Linked DNA regions of Homo sapiens: all the other regions are linked to region 4. The links are contacts of gene promoters, found by promoter capture Hi-C in human tissues and cell types (Jung and others, 2019). All regions are on one chromosome and are shown on one strand. Each heading gives the region's core, a stretch centred on a gene start or on the middle of the fragment in contact. The rest is flanking DNA. Distances are from core to core; before and after follow the strand shown. Region 1 overlaps STOX2 (storkhead box 2). Region 2 has its middle 27 kb from the start of STOX2. Region 3 overlaps CFAP97 (cilia and flagella associated protein 97). Region 4 holds the start of CASP3 (caspase 3).

The links. Contacts are between HindIII fragments. The study calls those that stand out against the background at their distance.
Region 1: a fragment that was not itself captured here is called in contact with the fragment with the promoter of CASP3 in region 4 in 2 of the 25 tissues and cell types used here (hippocampus and mesenchymal stem cells).
Region 2: a fragment that was not itself captured here is called in contact with the fragment with the promoter of CASP3 in region 4 in 1 of the 25 tissues and cell types used here (hippocampus).
Region 3: a contact is called between a fragment that was not itself captured here and the fragment with the promoter of CASP3 in region 4, in 1 of the 25 tissues and cell types used here (dorsolateral prefrontal cortex).

Annotation. Positions count from the first base shown.
Region 1 is chr4:183,906,468-183,909,304 of GRCh38, forward strand. It overlaps STOX2 (storkhead box 2), which reads left to right. Exons shown (of 4, transcript NM_020225.3): 1 at 1-489. The coding sequence starts at 324. Among named protein-coding and RNA genes, the nearest start is that of STOX2, 2.6 kb to the left of the region's middle. The HindIII fragment of the contact is 3,568 bases long and covers 1-2,837 here.
Region 2 is chr4:183,876,575-183,879,529 of GRCh38, forward strand. It overlaps a transcript of STOX2 not described here. Among named protein-coding and RNA genes, the nearest start is that of STOX2, 27 kb to the right of the region's middle. RefSeq lists an enhancer at 1,797-2,549. The HindIII fragment of the contact is 4,877 bases long and covers 1-2,955 here.
Region 3 is chr4:185,166,734-185,169,898 of GRCh38, forward strand. All of the region lies in intron 3 of CFAP97 (cilia and flagella associated protein 97), which reads right to left. Among named protein-coding and RNA genes, the nearest start is that of SLC25A4, 25 kb to the left of the region's middle. The HindIII fragment of the contact is 8,838 bases long and covers 1-3,165 here.
Region 4 is chr4:184,647,743-184,650,814 of GRCh38, forward strand. It overlaps CASP3 (caspase 3), which reads right to left and starts at 1,705. Exons shown (of 8, transcript NM_004346.4): 1 at 1,653-1,705; 2 at 723-889. PRIMPOL (primase and DNA directed polymerase) reads left to right here and starts at 1,996. Exons shown (of 14, transcript NM_152683.4): 1 at 1,996-2,166. RefSeq lists silencers at 1,213-1,422, 1,433-2,012. The HindIII fragment of the contact is 11,001 bases long and covers 1-3,072 here.

The DNA of each region.
Region 1 (2,837 bases), core at 180-2,679, 740 kb before region 4:
GCCCCCTCCCCGCCTCCTCCCGGCCGGGGAGCCTCCTAACGTGCCTTTCCCCCCAGGAATCTGGAAGCTATAAGCCGGGCGGATTGCAAATGAAGTGTAATGCATTGTGGGACGTGTGTAAAATCGGAGCCTTCGCCGTGGGGGTGTGGGGGGGCGTGGGGAGGGCCGGACCCGCCGCTGGCGGTGTAGACGCCGACGAGGAGGGGCTGGGAAAATGTGCGCAGAGTCCGCCCGGGTCGTGCCCGCCGTAGACGGATGAAGGAGCGCGCTGCGCCCCGGCGCTGAGGCCCCGAGGATCGGGGCGGCAGGTCGCCCTCCCCACCATGAAGAAGACCCGGAGCACAACCTTGCGGCGAGCCTGGCCTAGCTCGGATTTCTCGGACCGGGCCTCGGACCGCATGAGGTCCCGCAGCGAGAAGGACTACCGCCTGCACAAGCGTTTCCCCGCGGCCTTCGCGCCCCAGGCTTCGCGGGGCTACATGACATCAGGTTGGTTGGTGACCGCGTTTCTGCCCCCGGGCCGGGGCCGCGGGACGTGCTCGGTACGCCGCGGCCCGGGTGCTTGGAGGAGAGGACGGGCAGTGATGGATGCGATAAGTTATGGGGAAAGCAGGAAAAAATTAGCTCCCATCCACCATTTTGTACCTCCCAAGATCCACAGCAGGCCCTCTCAATATGGGGTTGGAGAGCTATTAGTTAGGTAAAACGAGGGAGGGGGGACGAGCCGGGCGTTTTGGCTGCAGGGAGATAAATGACTGCAAGCCCCGGCGCTGCAGCCTCCTCGAGCTTTGTGGAGGATCCTGCGCCCAGGGTTGCCTGCAGTGCCAGGCTTGCTGGCTGCTGCATTGTGGCCGGTTATCTGAGTGGGTATTTCCAGCAGCCCCCTGTTCTCCAAAAGGAACAGGTTCCATGCGCAGCTCTGGATGGGCTGAGTCAGGGGAGAGTCCTGCAGACATCCCAGGCTGGTCTGATTTGCACGCAGAGAACTGTGTTGGAGCTTACTGAACGCGTTCTGTGGGGGTAATGGTGTGGATGCGGATTGAATGCTCACATGATTCTGTGTGGATTTAACATATGTTGCTTTGAATTAGGCTGTATGGAAAGAATGGAGGCTGTATCATGTGTTTGCATGTCAGACAGGAGGGACAAACAAAACGGTAAATGGAAAGGGAAGGCTTCAAAAAAGATTTCCGCTTAAAATGCAGTGCTGTGAAAAGCCTTCCTGAAGGAGCCAGTTCTTTTTTTGGAAATACAACGGAATGGCTTTGGTTTGATTTGGGAACCCAGGGATGAAATTCTTGAGGGAAATGCTGAAGGAGGAAAAGCCTGGAAACCTTCCGTTGCCTTCTCCTTACTTCTCCTTAACCACTTGGATGTAATGATGTGTAAGGCATCGGTTCTTATTTATTTTTCATTCAGAGAAAAATTTAGATTTTCTTCTAAGCACACTGTAATGGAAGAACCGAGATTTTATTTTAAACCACATACTGTACCAAATCACTCTGAGCCCTGTCTTAACTGGGAAGATCATTTTAAGCTTGTGGTTGGTACTTACAGTCTAGCTTTACTCTTTTTCTCCTAAAACAGCAAGTCCTTTTTAACTGGGGTCAGCATCTCATGCTTCAAAAATGCCTTGCGACCGCATTTCCACGAACATAAAGCCGAAATAAAAGAACCATCTTTTTTATTGCAAAGTCAGGCGACATAAGGATGTTGTACTATTTTGGCAATAAGGCTCCCTTGATTTTCCCTTTCATGAAAAGCCAAATTCGTAAAGAAAGTGACAACTACAGTTTATACTTCAGTCATTTAAGTCGCTGCTGTGGTTGCTACACTCTTCAGACTTGTGGCAGTAAATTTTGAAACACACCTAAATGCAAACCTAACCTCAAAACACATATGTACATAAACCCATTGCTGCACTAAGTGTTCAGATAATCCTGGGTTTCATGTACTTAGGGTTTGAATGTCTTCATTCCACACTTCACAGTTCCCCTTTCTTATGCCTCCTAAGGAACCGGTCCTGACACCAACTGTGAAGCTATAGGAGGGTTGGTGGCCATCATTTCATCGACAAACCTGCAACACTCTGTTTCATGATTCAGGCACATTTCCAGGCAGCCAGTTTTTTTTTTTTTTTTTTTTAATCTATCTTGGCATTACCTCATTATCACATTTGCATTCTTTGCAAAAGAACTTGTCTGCTATTGCAGGTGCTGCGAGGCGTTTTTGAGGGCTTGAGGAAGAAGCTTTTAATTGTACTTGATTCCCTTATTTTATTTCTTGATCTACAAATGGTAAGATGGTCCTATGGTGATAATGAAGGATAACCTGTTTCAGGTTGGCGGTTTTCTGTTCAGATTCAATGTTAGGTTACTGCTGAGAAACCTGAAGACCAAAAGATGGAAGAAAAGTGCTGTCATTCATTCAGCATTTTTATGGCGTGCCCCCAAAGAGCGAAGTGCCTTGCTGGATTCTCATGGGGTTATAGGGTTGGATATAATACGGTTCTTGCCCAGGGAGGGAGGCTTATCATTTATTCTTTATTTTAACTGTTAGCTAATACATGGAATAAGAAGCAGGTGTTGCTGCTATGGAAGGAAATGGTAAACATGATGACAAACACCTACAATGAAGATTGGGAGAGTAGGTGGAGTCTTTCTCATGTGCAACTCTTTTGGGGGTTGGGTTGGGAAGGATGTGTATCTTCATCTATTTCCTTTACAAATATGGCTCCTTTCAAAATGTGAGTATTGATAGAAATAGATGATATACTGAAACACTTGGAAATGATTTATAAGACATTCTCATCCTTTTAGGAAATGTAAAGGAGATCC
Region 2 (2,955 bases), core at 199-2,698, 770 kb before region 4:
AGCGCCAGTGGTTTGAAAGGTGCTGAGGCCCCACCTGTATGGAGGCAGCCGCTCAGGGTGCCTGCTGAGCTGTCAGTAGTTCTCATTGTCCCGTAGGGGACCCAGCACCTCCCCTCCTCTCTGCTGCCCAGCCCTGTGGCCTGAGCCAAGTCGTTCACGGCTGCGCCTCCCACTTTCTTGTCTGCAGAGCGAGTGGGGTTGCCAGGAAGGTCATGTAAACCAGTGAAGTGGGCCAAGCGGGCATTCTATTCTGACGTTTCTTGAAACGTGCACAAAGCCCTGTGAGTTCCATTGTGAGTGCGAATGGAGAAGCGTTTTCTAGACTGAGAACGGTTGACAGTAGTTCCTGCATCCTGGAACATGGCCGTGCCGTTCAGTCTTTGTGTTGGGGAGGGTCTTGGAGAATGTGTGGCCCCTCTATAGGGCCACCACTCGGCTTCAGGAAAAAAGGCCCATACTATGAGACTGTGTTTTTTGGGTTTTTTTAATGCTATAAATCTGTAAAACTTACCCAATTTCAAAAAATATGATGAGGACCAAAACTAAAAAAATTATATGTGGGCAGAATTTGCTGAGTCTTCCATCTTTGGGATAAAAACAATCTCTTTTAGCTCTAAGTTCTGTGAGTCTCTGATTCTTGCTATCCCCTGAACTAAAGTCCTGCTACTCAAAGCGTATGGTCTGGGGACCAGCACGTCAGCATCTCCTTTGAGCTCAAGAGAAATGAAGAATCTCGGGTCCGCACACAGACCTACAGGATCTGCATTTTAACCAGATCCCAAACATTTCCAGAAAGATGATGCTAAAATGTTTTGGAGTAGGGGAAACATGAACACCAGCCAGTATGTTAGCATGAATCTGGTTTTCAGGTTAATTCACTGACCAAAAGAATCAATGGATCAGAGCATATAGAGATTACTTTTGACCAAGGGAGAAAATAGGGTCTGTAACTTTGTTGCAGAGCCGTTTTGCATGCTCTGTATGCGTGCTCTGCACAGTGGAGTGGGACGCATGGAAGCTTTGAGTTTCTGGTTGAGGATAAAGCGTTATTAACTTTATTAAGAATTTTAAGCACCTGCCTCATGCCGCACTTCCGCTGCTGCTGCTGCTGCTGCTGTGTTTTTGAGAAGGAATCTCGCTCTGTCTCCCAGGCTGGAGTACAGTGGGGCGATCTTGGCTTACTGCAACCTCTACCTCCTGAGCTCAAGTGATTCTCGTGCCTCAGCCTCCCAAGTAGCTGGGACTACAGGTGCCTGCCACCACACCTGACTAATTTTTTTTTTCTTTTTACTTTTAGTAGAGACGGGGTCTCACCCTGTTGGCCAGGCTGGTCTTGAACTCTTGACCCCAAGTAATCTGCCTTCCTCGGCCTCCCAAAGTGCTGGGATTACAGGTGTGAGCCACAGTACCTGGCTTATGCCACACTTTCACATAATTTATCCTATTAAGCCCTGACAACAGTATCTTGAGGTAAGAATTATCACTTGAAGTTTTTAGACCTGGAAACTGAGTTGCAGAAAGCTTGAGGAACCATCCAAGGCCACTTGCTTGCTAGGAGAGGAAAGAGCTGTGATTTGCACCCAGGAGATCTAAGAAGAGCTTGTCCAGTGCAAGCTTCATTTATACAACTCTGCCATGGCCTGCCCTTGCTGGAGACATTTTTAGATTCAGTGAACCTGCCTGGTAAAGGTGCCATTTGTAGAATTCCCAGGAATAAGAAAAACTAAAATGCAGGCCTTGTAATGCTGCTCCAAGTTTATTCATTATGTTTTGTTTTTTGGTGTTTTTTGAAACAGCTATTACTTAAGCTTTCATTGGTGGTTTTGGCCACGGAAAAGCAGCTACAAAATAAGAAATATTTGTCACTTCATAAGGACCAATTATTCTGTTTTAACAGTCGTTTTCTGGGTTTAATCCAGCAAGTTGGGTCCTGATTTTGATTTGGAATTAGAATTACAGACAATAGCAAATTGAGAACATACATGCAATCTTGGTGTTGAAAGAAAACCAAATGAGTGTGAATCTAAAAAGCATGTTCATTGTGCACCTTTAATGAAAAAATTTTCTGTATAACGACCTCTTCAATTTAGTATTTAACATTTCAAAGGACTTTGAAGGACTCTGCCTTCTCAAAAGTTGTCAAAGATTTTAGCTATTGTCATCATTAGACTTCAAAGCAGAAACTGCAGGCTATTTTAATGCCAATGCTTTTAATCCTAACCTTTGTATTGAGATTAGGAGCACAAAGGATGGCCCGTAAGGGGTGAGCTGAGTTTTTCTATTTTGTTTTCTTTTTCTTTTCCCTAAAGATTTACAGTGAAAGCTCTGCTCTCTAGAATTGTTCTTTACTCATGGATAGTTTTTTTTTTTTTTTAGGTCTAAACTATTTTGAAATCTGCACAATGGTGTCTGTTATTAAAAAAGAACAGCCACAGTAATGAAAGGACTTGGCACTTACAGATCAATTTCATGTGCCCACAGCCTGTTTCTGTAAAAGATCAAGAGCCATAAATCTCTCCCAAATTATCTGTGTTTGTTATTATTTTAGTGTTTGAAGATTAGACGTGTGTATGGGGTGAAGGAGTTGGTGAGAATTATGTGTAGAGACCCCAGGCAGCCTCAGGCCAGCCTCGCGAAGGCATGTCCCCGGGCTCACTGCCACCCTCTCTCTCACCATCTCATCCTTCTTCACCTCCATGAGCCCTACACACATCCCTTGTACGCCTTTCTGCTCTCGGCCCATACATCAAGCATGGACATATTTGTGCAGTGTCCTCACGGAGCAAAAACAGAAGCACACGGTGGCTCTATGCTGGCCTCACTCTGGAGGAAACCACAGAGCTCCGGCAATGAATAGTTTCTCGGGTGTTTGTGCATCGCACGAGTTCACAATGCGGCTGGGCGCTGGGATACAGTGAGTGACTTTCTCTTCTCATGGGCCCTAACATCAGGTAG
Region 3 (3,165 bases), core at 375-2,874, 520 kb after region 4:
GGAACAACACCATGTGTCCATCTGAGTGTTACATGAATATAACAAGCTAAACAAAAGCTAAAGGATTTGAGAAATAACTCTTGCCTATAGAAATAATATCAAAATACAAAGTGTTGATTACCCTAAATTTTAAGGTGTAAACCAACCTTGTCCAACCTGTGGCTTGCAGGCTGCATGCAGCTCAGGATGGCTTTGAATGCGGCCCAGCGCAAATTCATTAACTTTCTTAAAACATTATGAGATTTTTTTTTGGTGATTTTTTTTTTTAGCTCATCAGCTATGGTTAGCATATTTTATGTATGGCCCCAGACAATTTTTTTCCTTCCAGTGTGGCTGAGGGAAGCCAAAAGAATGGACACCCCTGGTGTAAGCCCCAAAATCAAAAGTGTATGCATTTTAATTTAGTCATCAATTTAGAACTCTTATGCAAAAGTTAAAAAACAACAGTTCAGGCTGGGTGCAGTGGCTTACATCTGTAGTCCCAGCACTTTGGGAGGCCAAGGCAGGAGGATCGTGTGAGCCCAGGAGTTCAAGACCACCCTAGGCAACATGGCGAGACCCCGTCTCTTACAAAAAATACAAAAATTAGCCGGGCGTGGTTGCATGTGCCTGTGGTCCCAGCTACCCAAGAGGCAGAGGAGAATGGCTTGAGTCCAGGAGGTCGAGGCTGCAAGTGAGTCATGATCACACCACTAGACTCCAGCCTGGGTGACAGAGGAAGACCTTATCTCAAACAAACAAACAAACAAAAAATTTCAAAATGCTGTAACGATTGTAATACAGTGATAATAAATATAAGCTATATGGTCAGAAAGATTTGGGCTTAACACTTGGCTCTGCCACTGATTGTGTCCTTGATCAAATTCCACGATAAGGATATTAATAACGAAATAACCTCAGAGTCAGTTTTTAGTAATTAAGTGATAGAATGCATCTAAAGTGCTTAAAATAGTGCCTAGTATCTAGCAAGAACTTATTCAGGCTGGGCGTGGTGGCTCACCCCATAATCCCAGCACTTTGCGAGGCTGAGGCAGGCAGATTACTTGAGGTAAGGAGTTCGAGACCAGCCTGGCCAACATGGTGAAACCCCATCTCTACTAAAAATACAAAAAAAAATTAGCCCAGTGTGGTGGCAGACGTCTGCAGTTCCAGCTACTCCGGAGGCTGAGGCATGAGAATCACTTGAACCTGGAAGGCGGAGGTTGCAGTGAACCGAGACTGTGCCACTGCACTCTAGCCTGGGTGACAGTGTAAGACTCCTTCTCAAAAAAAAAAAAAAAAAAAAAGAACTTATTAAAATTAGTGGTATTGTTAATATTGCTGTATTTTCTAGTTGTTTGACATGCAACAGTATTATCTTCCCAGCTAAGTTTTAAAGTACATGACAGTTAAGGGAGTATTTCATATGTATTTTATATTCCTTCCTTACATTGCTCATAACAAATACTAAACAAATATTTAATGGATTAAAAAACAATAAGAATGGTAATGTACGGTTTACAAAATCTTAGAACTGCCACTCAAATCAGATTCTAATAATGAATCCCAAAAGAGTTTGCCCACTTTTTTTTTTTCAGAAATTGCATTTTTTGGCTGGGTGCGGTGGCTCACACCTGCGATCCCAGCACTTCGGGAGGCTGAGGCAGGCAGATCACCTGAGGTCAGGAGTTTGAGACCAGCCTGGCCAACATGGTAAAACTCCATCTCTACTAAAAATACAAAAATTAGCTAGGCATGGTGACACACACCAGTAATCCCAGCTACTTGGGAGGCTGAGGCAGGGGAATCACTTGAACCTGGGAGGCAGAGGCAGAGTGCTGCATCACTGCACTCCAGCCTGGGAGACAGAAAGACTCTGTCTCAAAAAATAACAATAAAAGACCAGGCACGGTGGCTCACGCCTGTAATCCCAGCACTTTGGGAGGCTGAGGCGGGCAGATCACGAGGTCAGGAGTTCGAGACCAGCCTGGCCAACATGGCGAAACCCCATCTCTACTAAAAATACAAAAATTAGCTGGGCATTGTACAAAAATACAAAAATTAGTGGGCAACTGTAATCCCAGCTACTTGGGAGGCTGAGGCAGGAGAGTTGCTTGAACCCAGGAGCTGGAGGTTGTTGGAGCAAGCCGAGATCGTGCCACTGCACTCCAGCCTGGGCAACAAGAGCAAGACTCCGTTTCAAAAAAAAAAAAAAGGTGCAATTTTGGGTAATTATGTATATTAACGTAAACAACTTGAAGTTTTAATATAGGTATACATGCTGAAATAACACTTGAGCTACTTACACATCCATCATCTCACAGAGTTACCATTTTTATTTATGTGTGTGGTGAGAACACCTAAGATCTAGTCTCTTAGCAAATGTCAAGTACCCAAGGTACAAAGTTCCAGTCATGCAAGATGAGTAAGTTCTGGAGATCTAATGTACAGCATGTTGACTATAGTTAACAATACTGTGTTATATACCTATTGATACGGTCTGACTCTGTGTCCCCACCCAAATCTCATCTCGAATTGTAATCCCCACGTATGGAGGGAGGGACTTGGTGGAAGGTGATTGGATCATGGGGGTGGTTCCCCCATGCTGTTCTCGTGATAGTGAGGGAGTTCTCATGAGATCTGAGTTACTTAAAAGTGGCAGTTTCCCCTGTGTTCTCTCTCTATCCTGCCACCATGTAAGACATGCCTTGCTTCTGCTTCGCCTTCCAGCATGATTCTAAGTTTCCTGAGGCTTCTCCAGCCTTGCAGAACTGTAAGTCAATTAAAACTCTTTTGTTTATAAATTACCCAGTCTCAGGTAGTATCTTTACAGCAGTATGAAAATGGACTAATACACTTGTCCAAACATTTATTTTATATCCAGGAATTATTCTCTTTGGAAAAAAAATTAACCTAGCCCATCTTTTGATGTTTAAACAAATGTAAACAAATAAATGTCTTAATGATTTCTGCAGCCGTTAGCAGAGGAGAGTTGCTTTAGTGTTTCTAGAGCGATGAAGCAAAGACCTTGTAAGGACACTAAAAAGTAACAACTGTCCCCCACACAGGCAGAATCAAGACGACTGCTCTCTACATTTCAACAGTGGGAGTCACACTGAGTTATCATTAGCTTGCTTTCTTCAACGGAAGGAGATAACAGACCTTAACCAGACAAGAAGGAAACCC
Region 4 (3,072 bases), core at 455-2,954:
TAAAAGTAAAAATACAATGGATGGGCATTCACTGTGTTATGCCAGGCCCCGCATTTGGGGCAAGACACTAAGGATACCAAGATAAACCAAGTCCGTCCCTCCTGGAGTTTGCTTGCAAATCTAGCAGGGAAGATAGTAAACAAGCAACTGCAAAGGATATGACACATCTCTCTTAGGGAATGCTGGCTGCAGAAAGAACACAGCATAGGAAGATTTAACCTTAAACTGTTTAATGAAAACAGAAATTTAAGTAGCAGCTCTTCTAATCAAATGTGATGGCGGGAGAAAGGGAGTGCAGAGGTGTTGCAGGCAGACACTAGGTATGAAGGTCAGCATTGCCGTGCAGAAATCGAACCGGTGCTAAAGATAAGGAGGGGTGGGGGCACTCAGGACCCAACACACGCAGGGGTTTGTTAGCCATATTAAGTGCTGGGTTTAACCTAAGGGCAAAGGACGAGCTTTCTAGACTTTCATTTCATAAAGATCCCTCTGCCTGTGCTGTAAAAAGTGGACTGCAAAGGAGCAGGCGGGTCTGGAAGTGGAGAGACCAGGGAAGAGGCTGCTGTGGTCAGACGGCTGAAATCAGAGATAGAGAGACGCGGACAGATCTGGCAGACATTTACAAGGTCGACAAGGCTTGGCGACTAAGCAGGAAAAGAAGTGGGTGGGCGAGAGGGGGCTGCGAACGATGTTTTCCGGTTTCCTGCTTGGGTGCCACTTACTGAGAATGGGGGAAGAGGCAGGTGCAGGGCACACCCACCGAAAACCAGAGCGCCGAGTGTGAGCAGGGCTCGCTAACTCCTCACGGCCTGGGATTTCAAGGCGACGCCAACCAGCTGTGGCCACGGATACACAGCCACAGGTATGAGCTGCGAGCACTCACGAAACTCTGCAGGGCCGAAAAGGAATTGGAGTTTAAACCCTGCAACTATCTCTCTGGAAGAGCTAAACCACATTGTCAACCCGGGATAATCCAGGCCCCAGGCATGGAAGGCAGCAGAGACGGAAGCCTCGTCCAAAATTGGAAGGATCAGCCCCCAGGGCGAGTATCTCACAGTCAGCACCCGGCCGCCCCAGCCCTCGCAGCACCGCTTCCCGGGGCCACTCCTCCGCCGGCGGTAGCGCCGTCCGTTTCCCAGCTTGCCGCTGCCTTCCGCCGCCTGACCCGGCCTTCCGGCACTCGGCCGGCCGCCAGGTCTCCCGCCCTCGGAGCTCGGTGCCCCGTGCCCGACCTCCCGGCCCCGGGCTCGGTTCCCCTGGCCAGGCCTCCCGCTGCCTGGCCTCCCCGGCCCGGCCTCGCGCTGCCCGGCCTCCCCGGTCCCAGCCCAGCCTCCCGCCCCCGGGCCAGGTCTCCCCTCCGATGACCTGAGGCCTTTCCTTAGGTTACCCCCAGGTCCCTCTCCCTAAATCAAAAGCCTTAACCCGCTGCCTGGCTTCCCCGGCCCCGGCCCAGGCTCCCGCCTCCGGGCCAAGTCTCTCGCTCCGCGGGCTTCACTGCTCGCCCCCGCCCGGGCGAGGTGGCAAAACAAACACTCCGCCTTCCAGACCGGGCAGGTACCCGGGCGGGCGCAGGGCCTGGGAGAACGCAGGGAGCGGGGGCAGGGCTGACGGCCCGGAGCGAGGGCGGCAGTCACCGCACAGCCTCCTCATACCTTCTACAACCGCCTCACAATAGCACCCATCCGCTAGGAGCCGCGTCTGCACTGCTTCCGCGGCCCGCCGCCGGGAGATGTGCTCCAGCGCCAGCCCCGCCTCCCGCCCGCCCCTGTCGGCCCCTCGCGCCGCCTCCGCTGCGGCCCGTCCCCTAGCTCCCGCCCGCCCGAGAACCCAGCCCCAGGCTGGGCCCCAGGAGGCGCCCGCCCACCGCAGCGCGCCCCGCCCCCGCGCCCCGCGTCCTCACGCCCTGGTCCCGCCCTCGCGTCCCGCGCCAGTCCTCCCGCTTTGGTCCCGCCCTGAGGCTCGGCCCGGCTCCCCCGCCCCGGATTTGAAATCTAGGTCTTCCTGAGAGTCCGCGGGCTTCCGCTCCCAGCGCGGGATTCTGGAGGGAAATTGAGGGAGACTTGGAAACCGCGCCAGGCCCAACGGGTACCTAGAAGGGAGACAAAGCCAGGCCTGCTGCCCAGTTTGAGCTCTGGGAAGAAGAGGAGCAGGCCGGGACGCCCACCGGTAATTTCTGTCTCCTCTGCGATGACCTGAGGCCTTTCTTTGGGTTACCCTCAGGTCTCTCTCCCTAAATCAAAAGCCTTAACCTCCTGTCATCAGGGTGCCAGGCTAGAAATAACCAGGTCCACGCATGCTGTGTTTTCCACCATGTCAGGCTGCTGTGGACGCTCTTTCGATCACAAAAGCCACGAGCTGCGTGGAGTTCCCAAGGAGGCAGTTCTCAGCACTTGCTGGTCACTGGGTAGTCAGAGCCTGACACACAGGCTCAAGCCGCTCACGCATCATAGTAGTGTACTTAATCCACATATAAATGTTACAAGTTAAGCATCCCACAACAAAGTAGCATTTAACATCATGAGGAAAAAGAGATGGGGCAAAGAGATTAACGAACCAATCCAGAGGGAGTGAAGAAGAGGAAAAGAAGCCTGGTTTGGGCCGAGAGGTCCTTCTGCAAAGACGGCGTCAATTAAGCCGGCTGTTGGGAGCTGCCGAAGGCCCCATCTTTTATAGTCACAGAGTCCTGTGGTGAGAACTGGTAATGGAAGAGAGTGCTTGTTTGTGTCCTTACCTGGCTGGATGCGGACTATTTTTTTATTTGTTTATTAAAGTATAGTATGCTTGTTGGCAAATGCCTTATGAAATGTAAAAATGGGGTCTTCTCCTAAGATGGAGTTATTAATGGTTACGTCAATGGTGTGCTATATACACTGCCCTACCGATCCCCTTCCTATTTTGGGTCGTGAACTCATTTCAGACCCTGAAGCAAACTGTGAATCATTTTCGCAGAAGAATTCACCAACACATGTGAGCACGACATTCTGCATCAGATTTCAAAAAGTTCTTGACATTCAGAAGTCAGATTCAGGGACCCCATGGCAGAGCCTGTTTCTAACACTTGCGCCTATTCGA